7 separate regions of the Homo sapiens genome follow, and regions 1, 2, 3, 5, 6 and 7 are each linked to region 4. Evidence: promoter capture Hi-C in 16 types of primary human blood cells and fetal thymus (Javierre and others, 2016). All regions are on one chromosome and are shown on one strand. Each heading gives the region's core, a stretch centred on a gene start or on the middle of the fragment in contact. The rest is flanking DNA. Distances are from core to core; before and after follow the strand shown. Region 1 holds the start of LOC105370952 (a long non-coding RNA gene). Region 2 overlaps AKAP13 (A-kinase anchoring protein 13). Region 3 overlaps AKAP13 (A-kinase anchoring protein 13). Region 4 holds the start of MRPL46 (mitochondrial ribosomal protein L46). Region 5 holds the start of LINC02883 (long intergenic non-protein coding RNA 2883). Region 6 overlaps AKAP13 (A-kinase anchoring protein 13). Region 7 overlaps KLHL25 (kelch like family member 25).

The links. Contacts are between HindIII fragments. The CHiCAGO score rates a contact against its expected background, and 5 or more counts as called.
Region 1: a contact is called between a fragment that was not itself captured here and the fragment with the promoter of MRPL46 in region 4, in 16 of 17 cell types (M0 macrophages, M1 macrophages, endothelial precursors and 13 more). The highest score is 22.8, in M0 macrophages.
Region 2: a fragment that was not itself captured here is called in contact with the fragment with the promoter of MRPL46 in region 4 in 1 of 17 cell types (erythroblasts); the score reaches 5.5 in erythroblasts.
Region 3: a fragment that was not itself captured here is called in contact with the fragment with the promoter of MRPL46 in region 4 in 4 of 17 cell types (M1 macrophages, M2 macrophages, erythroblasts and 1 more); the score reaches 7.3 in M1 macrophages.
Region 5: a contact is called between a fragment that was not itself captured here and the fragment with the promoter of MRPL46 in region 4, in 6 of 17 cell types (M2 macrophages, M1 macrophages, M0 macrophages and 3 more). The highest score is 18.2, in M2 macrophages.
Region 6: a contact is called between a fragment that was not itself captured here and the fragment with the promoter of MRPL46 in region 4, in 1 of 17 cell types (M1 macrophages). The highest score is 6.3, in M1 macrophages.
Region 7: a contact is called between a fragment that was not itself captured here and the fragment with the promoter of MRPL46 in region 4, in 1 of 17 cell types (endothelial precursors). The highest score is 6.0, in endothelial precursors.

The regions. Positions count from the first base shown.
Region 1 is chr15:85,835,627-85,839,152 of GRCh38, reverse strand. It overlaps LOC105370952 (a long non-coding RNA gene), which reads right to left and starts at 1,862. Exons shown (of 3, transcript XR_932580.2): 1 at 1,740-1,862; 2 at 1,023-1,180. The HindIII fragment of the contact is 177 bases long and covers 1,795-1,971 here.
Region 2 is chr15:85,585,829-85,589,387 of GRCh38, reverse strand. All of the region lies in intron 8 of AKAP13 (A-kinase anchoring protein 13), which reads right to left. Among named protein-coding and RNA genes, the nearest start is that of LINC02883, 170 kb to the left of the region's middle. The HindIII fragment of the contact is 3,190 bases long and covers 91-3,280 here.
Region 3 is chr15:85,703,023-85,706,929 of GRCh38, reverse strand. All of the region lies in intron 17 of AKAP13 (A-kinase anchoring protein 13), which reads right to left. Among named protein-coding and RNA genes, the nearest start is that of LINC02883, 54 kb to the left of the region's middle. RefSeq lists a silencer at 1,949-2,078. The HindIII fragment of the contact is 4,594 bases long and covers 1-3,907 here.
Region 4 is chr15:88,465,989-88,469,864 of GRCh38, reverse strand. It overlaps MRPL46 (mitochondrial ribosomal protein L46), which reads left to right and starts at 2,477. Exons shown (of 4, transcript NM_022163.4): 1 at 2,477-2,715. The coding sequence starts at 2,488. MRPS11 (mitochondrial ribosomal protein S11) reads right to left here and starts at 2,157. Exons shown (of 6, transcript NM_022839.5): 1 at 2,083-2,157; 2 at 1,841-1,957. The coding sequence starts at 2,147. RefSeq lists enhancers at 2,307-2,476, 2,943-3,876. The HindIII fragment of the contact is 6,788 bases long and covers 1-3,876 here.
Region 5 is chr15:85,755,240-85,759,044 of GRCh38, reverse strand. LINC02883 (long intergenic non-protein coding RNA 2883) reads left to right here and starts at 320. Exons shown (of 6, transcript NR_120366.1): 1 at 320-534; 2 at 697-794; 3 at 1,056-1,161; 4 at 3,089-3,223; 5 at 3,390-3,527; 6 at 3,804-3,805. The HindIII fragment of the contact is 1,562 bases long and covers 1,569-3,130 here.
Region 6 is chr15:85,678,971-85,682,841 of GRCh38, reverse strand. It overlaps AKAP13 (A-kinase anchoring protein 13), which reads right to left. Exons shown (of 37, transcript NM_007200.5): 15 at 630-684. Among named protein-coding and RNA genes, the nearest start is that of LINC02883, 78 kb to the left of the region's middle. The HindIII fragment of the contact is 2,379 bases long and covers 244-2,622 here.
Region 7 is chr15:85,780,274-85,783,970 of GRCh38, reverse strand. The region is part of intron 1 of KLHL25 (kelch like family member 25); the gene reads left to right. Among named protein-coding and RNA genes, the nearest start is that of MIR1276, 12 kb to the right of the region's middle. The HindIII fragment of the contact is 7,893 bases long and covers 1-3,697 here.

The DNA of each region.
Region 1 (3,526 bases), core at 634-3,133, 2.6 Mb after region 4:
TGTTCTGTATTTTCATTGTGGTAGCGGTCACATGTATGTAAAAACTTGTTAACATTCAATGAAAAGTTTGCTTGAAAAAAAAAAAACCTGCCTTCCATTACTCTAATCTTCATATCTGGGGTGTTCTTCCTATTGCGATTGTGTGAACAAAATCAATTGCTCTACTTGTTCAGTTTTTCCAGGTTTCTCTACTCCATGTTCCAGAAGCTACCAACTGGGAGTGTGCAGACTGACGCACAATCGTTTCCTGGCAACTCCCCAGTAGAAGCTAAGGTGTATCTGCTTCCTGCTAGGATCCTGACCCGGGACGAGGGCCCACCTCTCTGCCTGCCTCCTTTAAGGGACGCCTCCTGCTCCACAAGTTTCTGTCCTCCCTCTGAGGGAGCCCTGGAATGTGCTCCATCTACACTACTAGGGCCACGTGGACTATCCTAGGAGTTGGGAGGGCAGGGTGCAGCTGGGGAGGGAATGCTCGCAGAGAATGGGGTTGGGGTGGCTTTGGCAAAGAATGCACTTGGGGTCTGTAAAGAGGTCAGAGAAGAGCAGGGCCACCTTTGCTCATATCAGATGCTGCTTGGCCACCCACACCTGACCCTAGCTCTAAAAGCCAGTGTGTGGAGGGTCTGATTCTGTAAACTGGATGAAAGAGCAGGGAGGATTGAATGAAGAAGATACAGGAGGAGCACAGGCTACCTGGGCAGGGGGCATTTCACTGAGGTATTCTTTCAGCAAGCTTTAATTGAACAAACACAGTGGAATCTCAATGGTCTTTATGGAGTGAGTGCAGGAAAGAAAGAATGAATGAATGAATGAATGAAGATAAGATAAGATCCCTGCACTCTCAGAACTCACCTTCTAGATAAGAAGACAATTCAAATACAAAAATACCAGTAACACAGAATGGTATATGAGAGGTACCATAAAATTTTATGGAAACGAACAGAAGAGAAAAATCACTTCTAGCAACACTGCAGGGCCATCCTACCCCTTATGAGTGTTGATGCAAATTAGAAGGAGCTTACCTGAACAGACCCAGCCTCCTGGGCCCAGCGGCCTGCAAACAAAGAGCAAATGCTTTTATGCCACTCTGCTCCTCAGCCAGGCATCCTGGTGCAGGACTCAGCCTGCTTCTCTGTGAGTGGCAGCCAGGGCTTCATGGAGGAGATGACATTGGAGTTTGCTGGAAGAACAGAGAAGACAGAGAGGACTTAGACCAGTGGGGAGGTGGGGAAGGTGGCAAGGGAGCAGATTAGAGGAGAGAAGAGGATATTCCAGGCAGAAGGATGGGTGCACCAGGATCCTGGAAGCAGGGGATAAAGAGATCTTACAGGAGTGTTAAGATTCTGCTGGGGCTGTCCCCTGGAAGGCCATAGGGGCACTTATCTTTGTAGTGGGTGTCCTCAGGTCACATGCTCAGGCCAGCCAAGCAGGGCAGCCCAGTGACTAGAGAGCATAGGCCTGGGAACTCTTATGAGTTGAATTTTGTCCCCCCAAAATTTATACGTTGGAACCCTAACCCCCAGTGTCTCTGAATATGACTGTACTTGGAGTTAGGGTCTTTAAGGAGGTAATAAGTTCGAATGAGGTCACAGAGCAGGGCCCTAATCCAACAGAACTGCTGTTCCTAAGAAAAGGAAGGCACACCAGGATGTGTCAGCACAGAGAAAAGACCGTGTAAGGACCCCATGAGTAGGCAGCCATCTGCAAGCCAAGGAGAGAGGCCCCAGAAGAAGCCAGACCTGCCAAAACCTTGATCTTGGAACTCCAGCCTCCAGAACTGTGTGAAAATAAGCTTCCATTATTGAAGCCCCCAGTCGGTGTTGGCAGCCTGAGCAAACGAACACAGGAGTCAACATCAGGCTCCTAACTTCCTCACTGTGTGTCCTGAATGAGTCATGTAGCCTAGCTCAGTTTGTTTTCTGATCTGATATGGAAAGCAAAGGTAGAAACGCCCAGGGTGGCAATGAAGCTTAAGTGAAATTGCACTTGTAAAATAGGCAGCTGGCAAGTACGCAGATGTTGACAGAATAGTCTGGTTTCTAAAATGAGATGCAGGCCGGGCACGGTGGCTCATGCCTGGAATCCTAGCACTTTGGGAGGCCAAGGTGGGCAGATCACCTGAGGTCAGGAGTTCAAGGCCAGCCAGGCCAACATGGTGAAACCCCATCTCTACTAAAAATACAAAAAAAATTAGCTGGGTGTGGTGGTGCCTGCCTGTAATCCCAGCTACTCTCAAAAATAATAGTAATAATAAAAAATAAATAAAATGAGATACAGGCACCCTGTGGGGGTGAGGAGGGGAGAAAATTCACTGGAGTGGAGGAAGAAAAGATAAGAACTTATTTCTTTTTCTTTTTCTTTTTTTTTTTTGAAACAGAGCCTCACTCTGTTACCCAGGCTGGAGTGCAGTGGCGCGGTCTCTGCTCACTGCAACCCCTGCCTCCCAGGTTCAAGCAATTCTCCTGCCTCAGCCTCCCAAGTAGCTGGGACAACAGGCACCTGCCATCACGCCCAGCTAATTTTTGTATTTCCAGAACAGACGGGGTTTCACCATATTGGCCACGCTGGTCCCAAACTCCTTACCTTGTAATCCACCTTCCTCGGCCTCCCAAAGTGCTAGGATTACAGGCGTGAGCCACCGCACCTGGCCAATAACTTATTTTTTATAGTTAGTTCTTTTTTTCTTGAGACGGAGTTTCACTCTCGTTGCCCAAGCTGGAGTGCATTGTTGTGATCTCGGCTCACAGCAACCTCCGCCTCCAGGTTCAAGCAATTCTCCTGCCTCAGCCTCCTGAGTAGCTGGGATTACAGACACGTGCCACCACGCCTGGCTAAGTTTTTTAGTTTTTTTGTAGAAACACGGTTTCACCATGTTAGCCAGGCTGGTCTTGAACTCCTGACCTCAGGTAATCTGCCCGCCTTGGCCTCCCAAAGTGCTGGGATCACAGGCGTGAGCCACCGTGCCCAGCCAATATAGTTATTAGTTATTTCTTTTCTTTCTTTTTTTTTTTTGAGACAGAGTCTCACTCTGCTGCCCAGGCTGGAGTGCAGTGGCGTGATCTCAGCTGACTGCAACCTCTGCCTCCCGGGTTCAAGCAGTTCTTGTGCCTCTGCCTCAGCCTCCCGAGTAGCTGGGACTACAGGTGTGCACCACCACGCCCGGCTAATTTTTGTAATTTCAGTAAAGACAGAGTGTCACCATATTGGCCAGGCTGGTCTCGAACTCCTGACCTAGTGATCAGCCCACCTCTGCCTCCCAAAGTGCTGGGATTACAGATGTGAGCCACTGCATCCAGTGCAATATAGTTATTTCTTAAATTTATTTTTATAGTTATTCTTATGTCCCCATTTTACATTTCTCTTTTTATATATGGCTTTAATGAGCATAATACATTAATGTTTATAATTTATGAAAAAGTATCATCCTTGTAATTTCTACTTTGTGCATGGTTTTAAGGTACACCCTATATAAATCCAGTGCTAACTGTATAAACTATATGACTAAACAGATTTGCATGTAGTAGGG
Region 2 (3,559 bases), core at 436-2,935, 2.9 Mb after region 4:
TCAGTGTCCATAATAAAGTTGTATTGAAGCACAGTGACACTCCTTTGTTTACATACTAGCTACAGACACTTTCATACTCACAGCAAAGCTTACTAGTTTTAAGAGACCATATGTCCCACAAAGCATTTACAAAATCTGTCCTTTACAAAATGTTTGCCGACCTCTGCTCTCTTTCCCCATCCAGTGAAAACCTATATGAATATAGTATGTGAAGAGTTAAATGGGAAAAATTAAAGTGTGTGTCTGTTTTATCCTTTCAACTCACAGCAAATAAGGCAAGTTTGTCAGAGCACCACGGAGAAGAGTTAAGTAGTCAGATTTCACATCATTATAAGAATGCTGTGAACACAAAAACTTCCTGAATTTAGGCCTGCAAATCCTCAAGAACTGAAAATCCCACTGACATATGCTTTCCCCAACTCTACACGGTGGAAGCAAACACAAAGCATAAGGCATTGATATCTCGCAGCTAGAGATAAATTACATGGTTCTCAGGCTTCTTATAGCAACTTTACCAATCAGAGCCCAGGTTTCTTGAGTCAAGGAGGAATCGCCCTGTTGTGTAAGTCCCAGATTAGAAATCAAACCTCAAACTCTTCCAGCTGCCTTTGGCCTCAAGCTAGTCATGTGACTCTCCAAGGGTCTATTCTTTTATCTGTAAATTGAGGTATGCTGACCAACCAGAGGAATATTCACTCTCTCAACTCTTAAAACTAGAGAAAAAAGGAGAAGAGGAAAGGGACTGAGAGAGGAGACCTTTTCTTTTCTTTAAGTCATGTTTTGTTTTCTTCTTTATAGTAGACAAGATACCATTAGAATAGAGATATCCCTCATCAGAAAGCAAAGGGTCTAGAGCCAAGTACCAGCCTGGATTCAATGACTCTAATCACTACAATATTAAAATGGAGTACTAAGAAACAGAGGTATTTGAATTCAAGGATGTGAGTTTTTTCCTTCCCTTTCTAAGGGGCTTCTGGAAACAAAGACACACGTACCCATGCAGGGTGTGTTCTCTTTTCTTCTCACAGGGGTAAAAGCAACATTTGTCTGAATAATGCCTGCTTTACAAGTAGCCACCCAGGCATTAGTCATGAATATTATGTGTAATAAGGGCGGGTTAGAACAGTCAGCACCTTCATACCACAGTACTCCAATACAACAAGGTTTGTTCATCACTGTTCATACTCTTGAAACAATCTGGGATAGTCTGTTCCATTTACCTACCGTGAAATTTCAAAAAAACATACCACTTAGTCCTCTGAAGAGTAAAAACAGTGCAATGTCAAGTGTAGCCCAAGGAACATGGACTTTCAAAGGGGCAGCATGAGTAAGTTCACTAACTTGATTTTCAGCTTTCTAATTTTTTTTTTTTGACCACCATGGAATCTAAAGCATAGGGCACTGTTTCTCTCAACAAGTTTGTTTTAAAAGTTAATAGCTGGCTGGGTGCACAGGCTCACGCCTGTACTTCCAGCACTTTGGGAGGCCAAGGCGGGTGGATCACTTGAAATAAGAAGTTTGAGACCAGCCTGGCCAATATGGCAAAACCCCATCTCTACTAAAAACACAAAAAAGTAGCCGGGCGTGGTGACGAGTCCCTGTAATCCCAGCTACTCGGGAGGCTGAGACAAGAGAATCGCTTCAACCCAGGAGGTGGAGGTTGCAATGAGCCAAGATCCTGCCATTGTACTCCAGCCTGGGTGACAGTAAGACTTCATCTCAAAAAAATAAAAAATAAAATAAAATAAAAGTTAATAGCTTTAAACAAAGAAAAATAATCTCAAGACCTTGAAGAAAAATATTTTTGAAGCCAAATAAATGGAAATTACCATATGACCCAGCAACTCCACTAGGTATATAAAAACATGTCCACATAATTTTGTACACAAATGTACATAACAGCATTATTCACAGTAGCCAAAAAGTGGAAACAATCCAAATCCACAAAAAAATGTGGTATATCTATACAACGGAACAGTATTTGACAATAAAAAGAAATAAAATACTGATCAATGCCACAACATGGATGAAACTTGAAAATATTACGCTAAGTGAAAGAAGCCAGAGACAAAAGATCACATATTGTGTTATACCATTTACATGAAGTTCTGGAATGGGCAGTTTACGTACTATCTACAGCCACTTTCACACTCTCACAGCAAATCTCTCTATGGATTTACAGAAAGCAAAAGTAGATTAATGAGCTGGGGGAGGGAAGAGTGAAGGAAAGGCACACTGCTAATGGGTCTGGGGTTTCTTCTTAGAGTGATAATGTTCTGAAATTAGAGCCTTAGTGGCGATGGTTGCAGAACTCTGTAAATCTATTTAAAACCAATGACCTATGCACTTTATTTGATTGGGTGGATTTTATGGTATGTGAATCATATCCCAAAACAAACTATTCTTAAAACAAAAAAAAAATGTTGATTGAACCTTTTATTCTCTTATTTTTTTTTTTTTGAGAAGGTGTCGTGCTCTGTCGCCCAGGCTACAGTGCTATGGCACAATCTTGGCTCACTGCATCCTCCGCCTCCCAGGTTCAAATGATTCTCATGCCTCAGCCTTCCAAGTAGCTGGGATTACAGGCACCTGCCACCACGCCCGGCTAATTTTTTTGTATTTTTAGTAAAAACAGGGTTTCACCATGTTGGTCGGGCTGATCTTGAACTTCCGACCTCAGGTAATCCACCCACCTCAGCCTCCCAAAGTGCTGGGATTACATGTGTGAGCCACCGCGTCTGGCCTATTGAACCTGTTTTTTCATTGCTGAAAACGATATACTTCATAATTTAGACAGTTACTATTGAGCTATAAAGTAAAAATCTCATTTTGGCTATCAGTTTTTATATAAAGAAAGAAGAGTCAGGTTTAAGAAGGGTTTATAGGCCGAGTGCCATGACTCACATCTGTAATCCCAGCACTTTGGGAGGCTGAGGCAGGTGGATCACTTGAGGCCAGTTCGAAAACAGCCTGGCCAACATGGCAAAACCCCATCTCCACAAAAAGTACAAAAATTAGTCAGTCATGGTGGCGCATGCCTGTAATTTCAGCTACTCACAGCTGAAATTAGGCAGGAGGCGAAGGCAGGAGAATCGCTTTCACCCAGGAAGCAGAGGTTGCAGTGAGCTGAAATCACACCACTGCACTCCAGCCTGGGTGACAAGAGCAAAACTCCATCTCAAAAAAAAAAAAGAAAAAGAAAAAGAAGGAAAGAAAAAAAGAAAGAAAAGGTCTATAGATCCCCTTTTGTGATAGCTCAGATTTTGTGACAATTTAAGCTTACTGACAAATCTTAAAGCCTTGTGCTCAAGGGGAAAATGTTTTTCAGCATAATCTATAAGAAAACATGTAACAGCCCATTCCAAAACTTTGCTGTATGGTATATACCATTTATGAAAGCTTAGCTGCAGCAACATAAACACATTTATATAACAGCACAAGAGGGAAGGGGGAAAATACTATTTTGCCCACTTACCCTCAAATAAAAGACAAAGCCATAAATAAGACACAGCAGAACAGGATAAACACATTTTGTGCCCTTATAGACTTACTGATGCCA
Region 3 (3,907 bases), core at 492-2,991, 2.8 Mb after region 4:
GAAACCAGAAAGGAGACTGCTAGAATCCCAGACCTCAAAGGCCTATTCCATGCCTTTTGTAACACTTCCTTTAACACCCACTTGGTTCACAGGTCTCCTCCTTAATACCACTGGCACAGTGTATTGAGACTCTCTTAGGTTTTTCTCTATCCCCTCTCTGGGGCAGGGACCATTCACCCACTGCTGAATCTTCAAATTAAGACTCTCCAGCATAGTGCCTAGCTCATGCATCCTATTCAAATGCTCCTCTCTCGGCCCTACTATGCCTATTTAAACTAAAATTAGATGAATGCGCTGACACAGCCTTGATTACAGTATGTCAAACATCAATTTAGTAACACAAAAGGACAAACAGCTGTCAAACTAAATTTGACGTAGGTCCTGGCTCTGCATGTATGTATGTACTAGTATGACCCTAGTCCCTTCTTGACAGGCCTCCGTTTCCTCATCTATAAAATTAAAAAGGAGGAATCACATTTTCCCCCAGGTTCCCTCTGCTGTGATTCTATCAGATGGGTAAGTGAGTTTCAGGCTGCTGGACCCACAGCAAGAAGCATAACAAAGTGGTCGAGGCAAACGGCTTTATTTATTTTCTAGTAAGCCAAAACATGTTTCTGCCCATCCTCACGAGCACTATTCTTACTCAGGGTGTATGGTGCACCTCCCCTCCTCTGCCACAGAGATGCCCAGGACTTGCAGCTGGCATGCTCCTTTCTGGTTTCTTCCTCTCCCATTAGTTGATCCATCATATCCTTCCCATGCACAGACTTGAAAGCCCACCCCACTCAAACCCTTTCTCTTCACAAATCCCCACTCAGCTAAAGTCTTTCAAATACATCATCTTTAAGTCCATTTCTCTTTCCCTTCTACAGAAAAAGTATAAAAAGACTATGAAAAGGCAAAGTCAATGATTAGTAGATCTATGTTTTTCAGCGTGCTGAATCCTCAATATATAATGCTGAAGAGAATAAAGCAAATTACAAAAAGAGGTACTGTATGGTAGTATTTATGTAGGTTAAAAACAAAAACAAATTATATGTTGTTTATGTATGAAAATAAATTATAAAACACAGACTACGAATGCACTGAATTCATGACAGTCCTTGTCCTTGGGGAGGAAGGAAGATGCATGGGGCAGGGAAACAAAGGGGAATCTGAACTTAACCATAATGGTTTCTTAAAAAGTGAAACAATCTGAAGCCGTCTGACAGAATGTTACTATGTGTTCATTCTGAATCATGGACACATATGTGATAAATTACCTATGTATAATACTTTGTATTAACATTTTTCAAAATTAAAAAAAATTTTTAATTTTTAAAAAATCATCACACTCTAATGTCGTTCAAAGTTCCTTGGATTTGCTTATAAACATTTCCATATCCTTTTGCATAATCCATTTATCGCATCTTGTGATAACTTAAAGATAAGATTTTATTGTCTTATAATCCAGTTAAAAAAGTATATTTTTTTTCTTTTGTTTTATTGAAAATCTATAATATTTTAGGCACCTAAGGGCAACACAGGAGGTGGCAGATTTGCTGGAGAACCAGCTACTAATTCTGATCTGCAAAAGTGACCAAGAACACTATGGGCAGAATTTGTTTCCAAGTTCTGTTCTTTCTGTTCCTTTCTTCCCAACCAGTTCCAACACCCTACAGAGATTTAAGCAATGATGATTTTTAAGGGAGTGGCACTATCACGTAAAAAGGTTTCAGCAATATTCAAACTCTCAGGCCAGTGTTTGAGTGTCTGAGATGAACATAGAAGCAGAAAAAAATCATTTAAAATGTGCTTCTAGTAAAGAACTTTTCACATAAATTCACTTTTAATTAATTGAAACATGTCCCCAAACCCACAACCCAGCTGGAAGTTTAACACGCTCTATATTATGGTCATGAGTTTTCTCTTAGTGATAGTTTGCATGGACATCTCCTTAACATGCTGAAGTACCTACTTGAAAAACACTCAACTTGTTTCCAAGTTGTCCTGGACTCAATTCACAGTGACAGTTTTAGAGCTGTGCGTGGGTGATTTAGAAACTTCAGCCCCACTGACATCAGCCAAAGTCATGAGACTAAAATCTTACTCTCTGTTTGGGAAAACAGAAAATTACCAAGAACACAAGAATTGAAGACAAATCTAATACATTTTTAAGCTCTCTGCCACAAACCATACCATGTTGTTATGAAGATCAGAAAATAATTATCTGGCCTTTTATTTATTTATTTGATAGATTTCCTAATAGCAGTAGGCAATATGCTTTCATTTTTTAAAATTCTTCAAAAAGGTCTCAGCACAGTGGTTTATGGGAACAGAGCTGATCCCTAATCGGATTCCTCTGTACCTAAAACAAACAGTCCAGCCTTCAACTTCTTTCTTTGCTACAAGGAGGCATCAAACCAAAGAAAATGAAGTTAAACCCACATGACTGGAAACTATCATCTATCTATTGCTGTATCTTTTTTTTAACCCATGCCACCAACCACCACAGATCTTTGGCGAATGGTTATATACTATGTGTTTTTTATCTTTCGGAAGAAAAATAAAACAAACCATTAGCGAGGCTAACTTAAGAAAATCAACTTTATACAATGATAAGAGGAGTGGCCATGCCAAACTGAAATGAAATGACAGAATATCAAAGGACTGCCTACACAGAAACGAGCCACCTTTGGGAGCTGAGTCATATGCAGCCAAGGCTCTGACAAAAAAGGTCTTCCAGTACTTCAGTTCATTGATCATCACTTGGGAATAGGCTGAAGACTTCTGACTGTTCTGCCTACAGATGTGAGCAGCAAAATCTAACTGGGAAAAATGACCTGATTCTTCTCCAGGACACAAGTTGAGGAATTACCTTTAAGGATAGAAATGCACAACTTTCTCCTATCATTTCAACTCTAACCAAGAAAATGAAAATAAAACAAAAAACAGTTAAATATGAGCAAATTTAGAAATGCATGCTACAAAATTCTTTCTGCAACTTTAAACTTCTTGTTTAAAATCTTTAACAGAGACCCTGTCTCTCAAAAAAAAATTATTAAATATATGTGTGTGTATATATATATATATATATTTTTTTTTTTTGAGATGGAGTCTTGCTCTGTCACCCAAGCTGGAGTGCAGTGGTACGATCTTGGCTCACTGCAACCTCTGCCTCCTGGGTTCAGGTGATTCTGCTGTCTCAGCCTCCTGAGTAGCTGGGATTACCGGTCCATGCCACTACGCCTGACTAATTTTTTGTATTTTTAGTGGAGATGGTATTTCGCCATGTTGGCCAGGCTGGTCTCAAACTCCTAACCTCAGGTGATCCACCCGCCTCAGCCTTCCAAAGTGCTGGGATCACAGGCGTGAGCCACGGCACCTGGCCAATAAATAAAATCTTTGGGGGATTTGAGACATCGCCCTATCTGGACTAAGAGTGCTTATATGCAAAAGGCATGTGAGATGTTCTTGGTAGCTGGTGTAATAACCACAGTGCTGATGTACAGAACAAGAAGAAAGCCACAAAAAAGAGCCAAATCATCTCAGCTGAAGTAGCCCCAGCAGCAGTTTTCGTAACAACACTGGTAAACAAAAATGAAATAAAATGAAAGTATTCTGCTTAAAAAAGAATTGCCTTTATTGCTTAGGGTCTTTTTTTACCTTCCTTTTCCCTAAGTAATAAACTTCCTTCCTTTAATCAACTATATGTATTTTATTCTCTCATATAAGCAATGAACTATAAATGCCAGAAAACTGTCTAGAGGGCAACTTTTCTGATGAAATCAGAAGTAAAATCTAACCATCACACACATTCTAAATTCTTATGTTTCCTACTTAGATTGCAGCTGGTTTACTTGTTTATTTTTTATGTAAAAGAAACAACCTACCACAAAAGTACTGAAATGCTGCTAGCACAACAGAA
Region 4 (3,876 bases), core at 1,228-3,727:
CTTTTTCTCACACTGTATATTAACAAATCCTGCTTGTTCTACCTTCAAAATATGTCAGACCATTCATAATACCTCCATGGCAATAACCATGGTCCAAGCCACCATTGTTTCTTGTCTGGATTATTTCAATAGTCTTCTAACTGCTTAGAGGACTTTTCCCAGCTTCCATTCTTGCTCTCCAATGGTTTAATATCAACACAGCAGCCAAAGAGCTTACAAGATCTTGTCAGCAAGATCATGTCAACCCTTTATTCAGCAATTTCCATTGGCCTCCCATTTCATTCACAGTAAAAGCTGAAGTCCTCACAACGGCCTACAAAGTCCTACAGAATGTGGCTATGCAGGCCTGCTTGACCCCCACTTCCCCTTTCCAACCGTTATACTCCTACATTTTACTTGTTTTCTATTTACTGTCTTCTACCCACTGGAATTTAAGTTCTATGAGGGCAGGGCTTTTTGTCTGTTTGGTCAGGGATATATCCCCAACACTCTGAACAGTGCCTGGCATTGTTGAAGAAATGACTACAACAGAATCTTGGTTTAGATGCTTTCAGCAGCTCCTCACTGCCTTCAGTGGGGACAGCGTAAAAGCTCCAGTGTGACAGACAAGACCCCTGGCATTCTGATGCCTTCTTGTCTTGTTGGCCTCATCTGCCATCACATACACACCTGAACACACCATGTTTTTTCATACCACATGCCTTTACACAGATGGTTACCTTTGTCTCCAATGACCCACTTCAACTTGTCCAGATGAACTCCCATTCACTTCTGAGCTCCATGTTCTTTTCTCCATGGTCTTGCCTGATTTCCTCAGGAATGAGACACTTATTCTTTTTTTTTTTTTTTTTCTTTGAGACAGAGTCTCAATCTGTCACCCAGGCTGGAGTACAGTGGCGTGATCTTGGCTCACTGCAACCTCCGCTCCCTGGGTTCATGCGATTCTTCTACTTCAGCCTCCTGAGTGGCTGGGATTACAGGTGCCAGACATCACGCCTGGCTAGTTTTTGTGCTTTTAGTGGAGACGGGGTTTCGCCATGTTGGCCAGGCTGGTCTCGATCTCCTGACCTCAAGTAATTCGCCCACCTTGGCCGCCTAAAGTGCTGGGATTAAAGGCATGAGCTACTGCACCCGGCCAGGAGTTAGACACTTATGATTTCATACTTCCAACCAATGCTTACCTCCATTATATTATTGAGCAGATTATGGTTAAAATGTTTGCATGTTTGTCTTCCCTCAAAGACTGTGAACTACTTGTGGGGAGGAATGATCTTTTGTATCTGTATTCACGGCACCTAGCATGGTGTCTCACTCATAGTAGATTCTTGGTAAATGTTTGTTAAATGGATGTGAAGTTAAGTGGATGTGTATACAGCATACAGAGGTGGTGGCACTGGTGGGAAGCAAGATGCCAGTTCCTAGGGCTGAGCACAAAACCCACCCTGGACCATCCGTAAGACGTGCAGGAACATCTGTTCCATCGCTAGCGCCCTCTACCTCCCCATTTTGTTTTGGAGGCAGGGAAGGTTATTGGTCTGAAAAGATCTCCATCTCAGAAGAAAAGAACGCTGATACATGTTATGGATATCTCACATTCACTCATTGATTTAACGAATGTTCACTGAACATTTACTCTGTACCACGGCTCATCTGATTCTCACAACCTCTCTCAGCATTATCCGCATTTTTAGATGAGAAGGCTGAGGCTCAGATTTATTTGCATAAGGTCCCACGGATAGCAAGTGACATAGCTGAAAATTCACTGGTTCTGACTCTGGAGGGTGTCGGGCAAGAGTCAGGGGTTGCGGGTCTCCAGAGGGCTGGTCCAAGTGGGGCTCACCTGAACTTGGTGTGGCTGGGAGCCGCGTTCTGTTCAACTTTCTGCTTGGCCGCAGCGTCTTGGAGCTGTCGAGCGCCTGTGCAGATGGTCCCGGCCGGCGTTCTGGCCACGACCCTGCTGGGAAGAAAAGCTCGGTGAGGGCCACGGCCTAACGGTCACTGGGGCCCGGGTGGCTCAAGGGACACGAGTAGGAGCATAGTCCTGGAGGTGGCGGTGGGCTCGAGGGGGCAGTCATTTGTTACCCGGCTGTCTGGGGCCAAGTCCAGGACCGCAGGAACCGCGACCCCGCGTTTCTCACAGCCTGCATGACTTGAATTGACCCCAGTCAGTTTCCGTCTGCAGCGACAGTCACAGCTGCGCCGGCGCCGGTACCATGAGTGCCTGTCGGGGAGGGGACAGAAGGGAAAGTCATCTACTCTTCATTAGGTCCACTGAATATTTTTATTTCCATTTAAATGCTCAATAAGACTTTCACTGTAGTTCACCAGGGGATTCTTTCCCTTTTTTAATGTTCTGAGATGGTGGGTCACCCCCTCCATATGCGAATGGTTCGTTCTAGCAGTTCCGGGACTGAGCTTTCCCCTAGTTTGCCGCTCCCGCGGCTGAGGGATCCCTGGGAGCCGCGGTGCATTGTGGGAGAACGAAAGATGGCGGCGCCCGTAAGGCGGACGCTGTTAGGGGTGGCGGGGGGTTGGCGGCGGTTCGAGAGGCTCTGGGCCGGCAGTCTAAGCTCTCGCAGCCTGGCTCTTGCAGCCGCACCCTCAAGCAACGGATCCCCATGGCGCTTGTTGGGCGCGTTGTGCCTGCAGCGGCCACCTGTAGTCTCCAAGCCGTTGACCCCATTGCAGGAAGAGATGGCGTCTCTACTGCAGCAGGTGGGACTGAGATGCAGGGTTCAGAGTGACGTTTATTCTGCGTGACTTTGAGCGAGTAATTTCACCTCTCTGAACTTAAGTATACGGTACTTATCCGCAGAATGGTACCTACCTTACTGACTTGGTTTGGTACATAGATGTTCAACAAAAAGTGGTTTCTTTTCATTGGCCGTGTTTATTGTCACCTTAGACAACTCTTTGGAGATACTCTACTTCTTGTTCATGCAACACAATAGGGATCCTGTGGTGAACAAGAATCGGTCCGTGTCACTAGGAGCTTACAAGTCTGGAGGGAGAAAGTCTTTGTGATGTGATGAATGTTAAGAAGGAAATACAAGAGGCGGTGGGCACATCTGTCAGATGCCTATGATAAGCCTACTCTGTTTTATCTCATGGGGCTATCTGTGTGAGGGGCAAGTGAGGAAGCATGGGCAAAAACAGTGTAGTGGCTGTGAAGGTGTGAGGTCGCTACAGAAAGTGTTTGAAGGGTGATATGTTTCCTCAGAATCCGAGATGTTTTTGTCTTGGTCTGTTGAGAACTATAAACTTCTCTTCTGTGCTTTTTGCTTGATTTATTCATTTACTCGCTCGCTTGACAAATATTTGTTACTCAACCTACAGATGTTCATTGTGCCCATACTATGCATCAGAGAGTATGTTAAGTGATAGAGATGCTGTAATGAATAAGGCAGAAGTAGCTCTGGTTCTCAGAGTACTTCAGTCTAGTTGAGTGAGGGGATCAGTCAGTAACCAAATAATCATACAACTAAATGCAGACCCTGATAAGTGTTGTTAAGGAAAACACAAGGCACTATAAGAGTGTTTAACAAATACATCACATTTTGATTTTATGGTGAGTGTCAAGGAATGCCTCAGACTTTCTGAATACAGGTTTTTCTCTTTATGAGAAATGTCTCTCTGAGACAGTCATATTTAAATTGAAATCAGAAAGATGAGTAGGACTCTCCCAGAAGAAAGAATGTGAGGAAAAACATTCTAGGAAGAAGGAACAACCTCTTGAAAGTCCCTGAACAGGAAAGTCCTTGGTGAGTGAGATTCTGATCAAAGACTGACATGACTGGATTGTGGTGAGTCAGCAGGCATTGCCCAACCCAGCTCTCTGTTTTTGTAGCACTCTTGACCCCCAGTGACATTGTAACA
Region 5 (3,805 bases), core at 1,100-3,599, 2.7 Mb after region 4:
GTAATTCCATCCATTCGAAAAGGCAGAACCTCCAGTTGATGCTCCTTTGTCTGAAAATAACCCGAGCGCCATTCAGAGGGGCGAAATGGCTCCAGGAGGCAGCTTCACGGCCGCAGCGCCAGCTCACGGCACCGTTGCGCCCACTGGTTGCACCGTGGGCCCTGGGCTACCTGCCCTCCTTGTGCGTTTTCATAGTCACCATGAACCTCATGAGCTCAAGCGTATGCTCACGGGTAAACATCGTGTTCTGTGTTTTGTGATCTCACCTTCAGGCGCCCCTCAGACAGCGGGCAGCCCGAGAAGGTCATGCCGTGGCGCAGCCTGCGTGCAGGGTGGCTCTGCTGTGAACAGGAACCCGGAGGTGCCCCAGCACGGTGGCTCTCAGCAGTGGCTTCCGTGGTGCTCAGTGGTGTGCTGGCCCACAAAATCCAAATAGCGCCTTCACAGTGTAAGAAGTGCTTCTGATGCTGGCGTAGGGGCATGACGCCAGATTCCTTAGAAAATGGAATGATCTTGAGCGGGTGTGTCTCAGAGGTGAGTATGGTGCGTGTAGAAGAGCCAAGAGCACAGAGGGCCTCGTCCCTCCCCCTGCCCAGAGGTGCAGCCCTGGGAGGGGCATCCTGGGACTCTGCCTCGCACTGTCTGCTCCTGTAGCAGTGGTGGGGACCACAGGTGAACGCTACCACTTCCACACAGGCCTGAGCGCTTCACTCTGGGCATCCAAAGCCAGGAGTTGGCTCCAGCTAGAGTCCAGACAGCAGCAGAGGTGAAGTTCCCTGTCACACAGTCACAGGGTGAGTGTGAGCCAGCTGTGGCCCACAGGGCTCCAACTCTCTCCCCCTCTCTCCCTCTCTCTCCAACTCCCACCCCCTCTCTCCCTGCCCTGCCGTCTTCCATGCAAGGCAGCGGTTTCCTGGTCCACCCTGGCCTTCGCAGCCCCGGCCATCCCATCTGCATTCCAGCCAGTGGAAAGGGGAGGAGAGAAAGTGATGGGCAAGCCTGTTTTAAGGGCATGTCCCAGAAGTTGCACCATAACTTCTCCATTTTCCCAACAGCTAGAACTCAGTCACATCCACGCCTGACTGCGAGCGGGACTGGAAAGTGCCCCGAGGAAACTCCAGGACTCCAACGCCAAGTAAAGGGAGCGTAGATATTAGACAGGTAGCAGCCTCTTCCTCTACATGCTGGGTCAGGGGTTGGAAGGAACCTGGGCACACCGCCCTGCCTCCCGCTTCTCTGGGAGCATGCAGAGCCGTCATCTGCCAAGATCCTGGCTCTTGTCAAACCCTTCTTGTCAAGCAGTTGTCAAGCCCACTGGCCAGTGCTTTGCATAACTACCTCCTTTAACCCTCACAGTGACCCCCGGAGGTAGACATTCTTGTCCTCTTCTTGCTGATGAAGAAATGGGTCCACAGGTCACAGTAACTTGCCCAATGTCTCATGCTGGAAAGAGGAGGAGGAGGAGGAGGAAAAAACACGGTTGCAACTGACAGAATGTGGATTTGGAGCTAGGCCCACCTGAGTTTGGGTTCAAGCTCTCACGTGTGGCTCTCATGTATGTGCAAGCTTGGTTAAACCACTTGATTCTCTGATACAGACTTAATGATAGTAGGGTTAAAAGTTGAGGTCAAATTCTATAAAGCACTAAACACCAGGACCAATGCCCAGATAGCCCTTTACAGGGGGAGAATGGCCGCCACATTACAGCAGTGGAACTGGGATTTGAAACCAAGCCATATGCTACATTGTGGGGGCTGGGGGCTGGGAGCAGTGTTGCTTCCAGTCATTGCCCAGCAGGCCTAGCTCCATGTTCCTTGGCCTCCCAGGGGTCAGACTGAGTCTGGGATGGGGCTTGGGGAAGGGAGAAGGCGCCTTCCCCATCAGTGATGGGGCAAGGTCTCCCTGGAAACCTCGGTCCCAAGATGGCCAGTGGAGCTTTCCTGGGTTGTGCCTGATGCAGGAAAGAAAACGGGCCATCTTGGAGGCTTTGGCATCCTGAGAGCCTGCCTGGGGGGACTGTCAAGTTGCCAAGGGCAAGGAGAGGGTAGCCAACTGCCTCCTCCACCTGGCTGCTCAGCCAGGTCTCCCTGCCTTCAAAGGACATTTCTTTGGTCAGGAATTGACAAGAATGAGCCCAGAGTCATCCACCCCAAGGGTGTGTGGCAACCATCCCTTGCTCAACACCGAAGGCTGTAGAATCATAGTGGGGAAAGAAGCAACTTCTTCAGAAGCAGTTGTCTAATGAGCACAGCTTGGAAAGAGCCTTGGTTCTTCTGGATCATCACTGGGGGGATATTTCGCAGAGCAAGAAACTTGCATGCCCCGTCCATCATGTCCCAGCCCCGGCCCCAGGCCCAGCCCCGATGGATCTGCCCGGCCTCTCTCCTTCAGGAGGTGGGAATGGTCTCTTCCAACTTGAAGAGGCCATGAAGGTGATCGGCCCCCCAGCTGCTCTTCTTCCCTCAGGCCCAACCCTACCTGACCTGCAGCTTGGCCCGCCCATGGCACCTGCAGAGGTTCAGGCCCTGCCCAGGGAGCCAGGGTGATTTGGGTGAATTTCCCAGAACGGGCACAGTATTGTCCTGCATCTTCCCTTGCCTTGTTGGGCTTTGGGATGTGGCTCTGCCTCATTAAAGGTCAAGGAAAAGCCTAGAATAGGCCGGAGGCTTCTTAACTTGGGATTTGGGATCAAATTCAGGGGGTCCATGCACTTGGGTGGGAGAAGAATGACACCTTTGTTTTCACTAACCTCTGACTGAGGTTAGTGATCAAGTGATCCGCCCACCTCGGCCTCCCAAAGTGCTGGGATTACAGGTGAGAGCCACCTTGCCTAGCCCCAGTCACTGTTGAGGTCACCATTTTAAAGCTGAGGAAACATGCTCAGCATGGCAGCAGAAGCTCTGGCAGTTTCTGTGTGTCTGGCCCCAGCTGCCCAGGCCCCCTGAACCTGAGGGGCCTTGCTCTGGCCCTGGGGTTGGCCTGGGTTTGGCACCTGGCGCTCGGGCCCCTGAGGGCTTGCAGTAGGGGAGCAGTGGCTTTTTTGAGTTGAATTTAGTAGGGCTGGACTCCTTTCCTGTCCTTTCTGCAGGTAAAGGAGATGAGCAGCGTTGCTCTGGTACGCAGAGAAGCTTCCAGACACTCCTGGGTTGCACGATAGATTAAGTAATTCTACTGATGGGCACCAGCTCCATGCCAGGACCCAGGGCTCCAAAGCCATTTCCAGGTAGACTCATCACAGCTTCTCCACTCAGCTTGCAGGGATGGTGGGGAACCAGGGAGGATGGGAGCAAGAGACACATCCTGCCAAGCCCACCCTGTGGTGGCTCTACCAGCGTCGGGACCGCAGAGGGAACAGGATGGCACAGTCTCATCCTGACACGTGCATGCAGGATAAATGCAGGCTCTGAGAGCGAGTGCCACGGATGACTCCTCCATGGCCGCACTTTCTTCACATTGGCTCCTGTGAGCTTCCTCAACGCTTTCGAAGCTGGCCCCGCTTCTGTCCACTCTGCAGAGTGAACGTTGAGGTACTCTGTGTCTCTCATCTGTACAACCCTAACTAGGGCTTCATCCAAGACTGTCGAGGAGCAGGTCCTGTCTCTCCCTCTCTCCATCTCCCCACTTCCCATGGAAAATAGTGAGATTTTTAAAATGGGAGTTGAGGCCATACCGAAAAGCCAGCACTGTTAAATGCAGCTGTGACATTTGCCTGAGAGAGGTGGCCGGGGTGTGGGGGGGCGGGGTTTCAGCTCCCAGTCTGCCCTCCAAGCTGGTGTTGCCAGCTGTGGCTGCCTTTCCTGTAGGC
Region 6 (3,871 bases), core at 184-2,683, 2.8 Mb after region 4:
TACAAAATTAGCTGGGCATGGTGGCGCATGCCTGTCATCCCAGCCACTCAGGAGGCTGAGGCAGGAGAATGGCTTGAACCTGGGAGGCAGAGGTTGCAGTGAGCCAAGATCGCGCCATTGCACTCCAGCCTGGGCAACAAGAGCGAAACTCTGTCTCAAAAGAAAAAAAAAAGAATCAATTCGTTTACTTCGACAGAGCTATGTATCATTTACATGTATACAGAAGAAAACAGCTTTAAAGCTTAAAATAGCTAAGACTATTATAAATTGCACACACACACAGACACTAATATGAAACAAAATGTTGTTTAGACTGTTAGATTTAGGAATTAAAAATCCCATAAGCAAAGGGTGCACAAGTTCATAAAGTCAAATAATAGTGTACCCTCACATCAATAAATACAACCAATTTTTATCATGAGGACAGTATAATTAATAAAACTACTGAAGACATTAACTTTAAGGTATAGCCTTCATGACAAAACCACTTTTAATCATTATTCCAAGTTTATCACTCAAAGAAGAACCCAATAAGCTCAATTAACTTAGTTTACGTAATTAAATGGCCTAAGAGATTTTAAATTTTCTTCATTTTATTTCTGGAAAAAGGAGTAACAAATTTATAGTACCTCTCAGTCAGATTAGCACTGGTATTGTGGAAGGTACTGTGGAAGGGCCGTGAATCTAGAAAACAAGGCAGAAAAAAAGTTAGAACCAAAAAATTTAACACTGATGCCGGGTAGAATATTTATAAATTCACAATGACACAGCTAAAGCAAAAACAGCGTGTGAAAGTCAGCACATGGTACCTCCTCCTTCTAAAGGTTTGAAAGAAGGAAAAATTAAACTTGAAACCCTCAAATTAGAACCAGAAGTAGGTAGTGAATTTCTCATGAAGAAAATAAGTTTAATCCAGGATTCAAGTAACTAAAAAGACTCCAAATAACTTTTTCTAATGCTTAAACACATATGAAGCATGTTTAATTCCAGTTCTTATCAATCTTCAGTTTGCACAAACCATCCTTCTGAGATGACATCATAGGAAGAATATAGAATAGGAAATTAAATGTCATATTTTATCCGTTAATACTGCTTTTATATGTTTCTATAAGATCTAGCTCATCTCTAATATTTTCATGAGAATTGCTAGAAATAGATTAGCAAACAGGAAAGAGCATCAGAGCTGGCTTATCAAGTCTTCGCCCTGTCACTAATTTGGGATGAGACCTTTGGATTTCATTTCCTCATCTGTGAAATGAGGGAGATAAAACAGATGGCAAAGTCCTTTCCAGGCTAATAGAGATAAAAATGAATGAGGCAGATGCGTACTTCTTCCTTCCACAACCACTGGACCATAAACTGCCGCAGGTCATTAAAATTCTAAGACTATGTCAGATAGGGCAATATGAAGAAAAAATAGAAGGAATATTATTATTTTTATCTACCACATGTTAATAAAGATTGAGTTACTGAAGACTTAGATGAGAGCAAGACCTCAGTCACAGTGATAAATGATTTTCAATTTTCAGGACATCAGTTATAGAACTATTTCCATGTATATTCCAGGGAAACAAAGGTTACTCTGTAACACTATTTTAACGATTTAGACAAAACACCTTCCTTTTTCCTTGAGGTTGGTTTCAAGGATCTCTGAGATTACTGTAAGCAAAACTTTAATCTGATAGAGATTTGAAGATGTTCTACTACCAGACTACCAGCATTTGGGCCAGGCGCGGTGGCTCATGCCTGTAATCCCAACACTTTGGGAGGCAGAGGCAGGCAGATCACTTGAGGTCAGGAGTTTAAGACCAGGCTGACCAACATGGTGAAACCCCTTCTCTACTAAAAATACACAAATTGGCCAGGCGTGGTGGCGCATGCCTGTAGTCCCAGCTACTCGGGAGGCTGAGGCAGGAGAATTGCTTGAACCCAGGAGGTCGAGGTTGCAGTGAGCCGAGATTGCGCCACTGCACTCCAGCCTGGGTAACAGAGCGAGATTCCATCTCAAAAACAAAAACAAACAAAAAAACTCCCAGATTACCCGCATTTGAAACTCTTCAACTCTCAAACTGTTCCAGATTCTGAACAGAAATCCAAAACTGTAGTTATTATTTTTATCTATTATTGTTACAAATTTTTTTTAGAAACAGGGACTCGCCATGTTGCCCAGGCTGGTCTTGAACCCCTGGGCTCAGGCAATCCTCCTGTCTCCGCTTCCCAAAGTGCTGGGATTACAGGGGTGAGCCATTGCACCTGGCTAAATTTAAATTGCCAACAGGTAGGAATAATACATAAGAAACCTTAAAACAAATTCTAAGTCTTCAAAAGATTGCCTTCCGTATTTTTTTCCTTTTTCCCAGTTTAGGGTTCTTCTTCTGTTCATTTCACTTACAACACATGGTAACAACAGCCAGGTAAGAGGGAAAGATTAGCAGCATAAGAATATCTGGGATCCATCCCCAGGTTCTGCATAATCTAGGTGTAAAATATCAGCATTTTAATCTTATGATGCATTAGTGTACTTAAAAAAAAAATCAAGAGGATAGTTTAAATCAGTGGTTTTAAAACCTTTTCTGCCCAAGGAAACTTCAGTGATAGGAGCAGCATTAAATTTTCTAAGCTTGCCTGGATTCTACTATACATTTAAGCAATTACCTAGTAAGTTACCACCCTAGTAATATGAACTAAATAAAAATAAAATTCATAATGCAGAAAAATACCAACCAACACAAAGCAGGGCCAATCATAAGCTTCCAGCAGATATGTGTGGAATAAATTAAAGACTGAACACATATGTGATTGAGTACTAGGAGAATCTATGACTCCTATAATATTTTCAACTTTTCCACTGCTAAAAATTTTAGTTAAGTTATGATGACCTTTTAGATGTGGTTCTGAACACAGTAATTAATCCACCAATGCCTCTGAAATTCCTAAAGTATCATCAAGTTTTCAGAGCACCTAAGGGTAGAAAACAACCAATGCTACTTCCATGACAAAATTATGGACAAAATAAATGAAACGAAACGAAACTTGTCATTAAAGTTAGCCTGCAAAGTATTATTGTGGGTAAATAATATATTTCAACTAGATTATCTTTCAAGGCATGAAATAACCTGCAGATTTATACTACAGCCAGGAACTTCAGGGTGGAACTACTGGATGGACACAGTTGATATTTTTCAGAGTGTGTTCCGTGGAACACCAGTTTCATGAAATGTTGTATACAGTGCTGCACATATTGTGGTTTTCTAGTTAATACATTTGGGAGAAACAGTATATTGAACACTGCCTTGAAAATCCACAACGTAACACAACGTTAGCATTTTAAACCTGCTTAACCCAGAGTTTCCTAAATTTACTAATATTTGGCCATGAACCAACCCCTCCCTTCTTTTGGTTCTCCCTGCCCACACATAATTCTTACTAGTAGTTTTGAATTTAAGGAACACATTTTGAGAAGATACTTGATTCAAAAAGTTTCTGCAAGCTTCCGTATTTTTAGGGTTCCATTGTGTCGGATTAACTGAATGACCAGTGCTGTTATAGGATCATAATTCTGTATTAGCAGGACCTTGGTTTTTTGTTGTTGTTTTTTTTTTGAGATGGAGTCTCACACTGTCGCCTGGGCTGGAGTGCAATGGCATGATCTTGGCCACTGCAACCTCCGCCTCCTGGGTTCAAGCAATTCTCCTACCTCAGCCTCCTGAATAGCTGGGATTACAGGAGCCCGCAACCACACCCGGCTAATTTTTTTGTATTTTTGGTAGAGATGGGGTTTCACTATGTTGGCCAGACTGGTCTTGAACTCCCGACCTCGTGATCCGCCCACCTCAGTCTCCCAAAAGTGCTGGGATTACAGGCATGAGCC
Region 7 (3,697 bases), core at 389-2,888, 2.7 Mb after region 4:
TGGTACCTCGAGGTCAGGACAGTTATTGTCACCCCTGTTTTTCAGATGAGAAAACTGAGTCTCAGAGAATTTCAGTATCTTGGACCAGTTTTACAGGTAGCAATGGCAGTGCTGGGATTTGAAACCAGGGACTCTTAGCATCTAACCTTCCTGGTAGGCTGCCCAAGGTCGGTATCTGCAATTCGCTTTGTATGATTTATGGAACACCATCCAGAAAAGAGTTAAGGTTTGCTTTTTCCCATCTAGCATTTAAAATTCTTTTTTTTTTTTTTTTTTATTGAGGTGGAGTCTTGCTCTGTCACCCAGGCTGGAGTGCAGTGGTGCGATCTCAGCTCACTGCAAGCTGCACCTCCTGGGTTCAAGCGATAGTCCTGTCTCAGCCTCCTGAGTAGCTGGGATTACAGATGCCTGCCACCAAGCCTGTCTAATTTTTCTATTTTTAGTAGAGAGGGGGTTTCACCATGTTGACCAGGCTAGTCTTGAATTCCTGACCTCAGGTGATCCGCCCACCTCAGCCTCCCAAAGTGCTGTGATTATAGGCATGAACCATCACTCCTGGCCTAAGATGTTTAAATATGGCTGGGCACAGTGGCTCATGCCTGTAATCCCAGCACTTTGGGAGGCCAAGGCAGGTGGATCACCTGAGGTCAGGAGTTCGAGACCAGCCTGGCCAACATGGCAAAACCTCATCTCTACCAAAAAAAAAAATACAAAAATTAGCCAGCCGTGGTAATCCCAGCTACTTGGGAGGCTGAAGCAGGAGAATAGCTTGAACCCAGGAGCTGGAGGATTGCAGTGAGCCGAGGTCGCATTGCTGCACTCCAGCTTGGGCGATAGAGTGAGACTATGTCTCAAAATAAATAATAAATAAAATGTTTAAATATGGTATATGTTGATTATATTGCATATAATACGGCAGGTACCAGGCAGGCACCAGGGAACTCTCAGGTGGGTCTAACAGATCTCTGGATCATTTTGATTCTTTCTCCCGTGGGTATTGTGGCTAATCCCCATTTCATTCAGCAGTATTTATTAAGCATCTAATCGATTCTAGGTAGCAAAGATGACACAGAACAATGTCCTTGAGCTGCCAGTACAGAGAAGGGCACAATACGCAGTGACCTGAGGAGTGAACAGTGCTGTCCAGCAGTAGAAGAAAGGCTACCGTGCTGCAGCAAAGGCACAGAGGGCAGAAGAACGTTCATTCTAGGAGACAAGACAAAATTATGTTATTTACTGCATGCCATATGCCCTGTGTGTCGCATGGGGCACCACATTGTAGGTGCTCAGATTTCAGTGTACTTACTGCATTCATTTTCTGAGCATGTACTGTGGACAAGGCCATCCACATACCCGACAAATGTAAAATCCAGAGTGGGGTGTAGCTATGAAAGGAGAGATTGGGGAGGTGAGGGTGTGGGGCTGAGCAGGGAGAATGAGAGGAAGGGAGGGGGAGAGCTAAAGCCGAGAGAGGGAGGAAGAGGGGCTGGGGGTGGGACAAAGCTGGAAAGGGAACCGATTGAACACAGCTTGGATGTGAAAGCCTCCTTGAAGGCTTTTGAGCAGGAGCGCTCACAATTTGGCACTGGGTTGGTAGGTGTGGGAAGAAAGGGTTCAGGGGCCTGACCATAACCTGGCCTGCAGTGGTGACGCAAGACTGGGAAGGAAAACCCCAATGCAAGGTCCCAGGAAGGATGATGCAGTGGAACTTGGTGGCTAAACCATATGCTAAAAATGTGTATATGAATGACTGGCTATTTATGGGCACCCATGTTTTTGCTATAAATAAACGTACATATGTAATTTCAAGAGACCGAGAATTATCAACTGCAAAGCCCAAGTGTAGCAGTCTACTCACGGCCCCTGTACTTTGCTACTGGAGGGCCTGTCCTCTGCAAACCCAAGGTCTTTTTTTTTTTGGAGAAGGATGAGGTGGTCCTGTGGGTGAGAGAAGGCTTTTGATAATGAAGGGAGGAGCAGGCAGGGCCAGGTCATTAGAGGGAGGCAGCCAGCAGTGGGTGAGAGGGTACTGGGTCCAGCTGCCTCCGGTGACAGCAGGCTCTAGTGCATCACAGTACAAACGGGATGGAGACCCCCTGCATAGGCCCCCATGCTTCCTACAGAATTTTCTTTTTCTTAGTTCTTAAAAAAAACAGTGGTTAGTGTGGAAGATAAGAAAAATCTTCTGGCCAGGCGCGGTGGCTCACATCTGTAATCCCAACACTTTGGGAGGCCGAGGCAGGTGGATTACTGGAGATTAGGAGTTCAGGACCAGCCTGGCCAACATGGTGAAACCCCGTCTCTACTAAAAATAGAAAAAATTAGCCGGCATGGTGGCATGTACCTATAATCCCAGCTACTTGGGAGGCTGAGGCAGGAGAATTGCTTGAACCCAGGAGGTGGAGGTTGCAGTGAGCCGACATCACACCATTGCTGCACTCCAGCCTGGGCAAAAAGAACGAAACTTTGTCTCAAAAAACAAAAAAAGAAAAATCCGCTACCGCAATGTTCTCAAAGTGTGGTCTGGGTGTCCCTGAGATTCTCTTGGTGGAGAGTCCACAAGGTCAAAACTATTTTTGTGGTAATACTAAAACATTATTTGCCCTTTTCACTCATTCTCTCCAGAGTGCATAACTCAGTGAACCGATGTTTTCCAAATGGCCGATGCCTGATGTTACAGAATCACACATGGGTAAACAATCCATTCAAAGTGCAGGACAGGCTGTCAGATGGGAATGCCACTGAGTACAAAAGTTCATTGATACGGGCTGGGATACGGGCTCCTGAGTAGCTGGGATTACAGGTGCCCGCCACCACCATGTTGGCCAGGCTGGTCTGGAACTCCTGACCTCAGGTGATCCACCTACCTTGGCCTCCCAAAGTAGTACTAGGATTACAAGCATGAGCCACTGCGCCCGGCCCCTTTGGTTTTTTTTAGATAGCTGTGTGGAACTCCACTCTGTGCGTGTACCCAGGTTTATCTCACCAGGCCTCTTATTCGTGAACATTGTAGTTGTTCGCAGCCCCTCCTTTTGTAACCATGCTGCGGTGTGTAACCATTTTGTAACCATGTGCAGGCATGATGGAAGGGAAATTTTTAGGAGTGGAAATGCTGGGGCAGAGGGCACATGCATTTGTCATTTTGTAAGATGTTTCCCAATTGTTGTCTGAAGAGATTGTGCCAACTATGCTCCCCTTGCTCTCATCTCTGTCAGCGGGTAAAGAAAGAGTTGTGTCTTGGGCTTTGGGAATTGAGAGGCATTCTCATTCTGATTCAGCATCAGCGTTGACAGCCTAGAGAAGAACAGAGCTTCTGGAGAACAGGGAGAAAGAAATTCACTACCAGTAAGTGGCCAGTGCTTGGCATTTGTTCTTTTTTTGTTCTGTTCTGCATGTTTGTGTTCCTCCAAGACTGTCACTCCTGGTGGTTCATTGAAAGTGATATCTAGGCCAGAGTGCTTTTAATGGCTCCATCTGTGGGACCAGACAGGAAGAGAGACAGCCTCCCTCCAGGTCCTCAGACTGCATCTGTTTGCAAAGGGCCAGGCCAGTCCTGCCATAGAGGGGGAATCCTCCTCAGGAGGCCACGTTTGCTTTGGAGGGAGCCAATCTCGCTGCCCCTCTTTGTTTCTGTCTCTGGCTTGCTCTGGATAAGTGGAAGGAAACGAGTTACTTCACCAGATGGGTGAACCTGAGT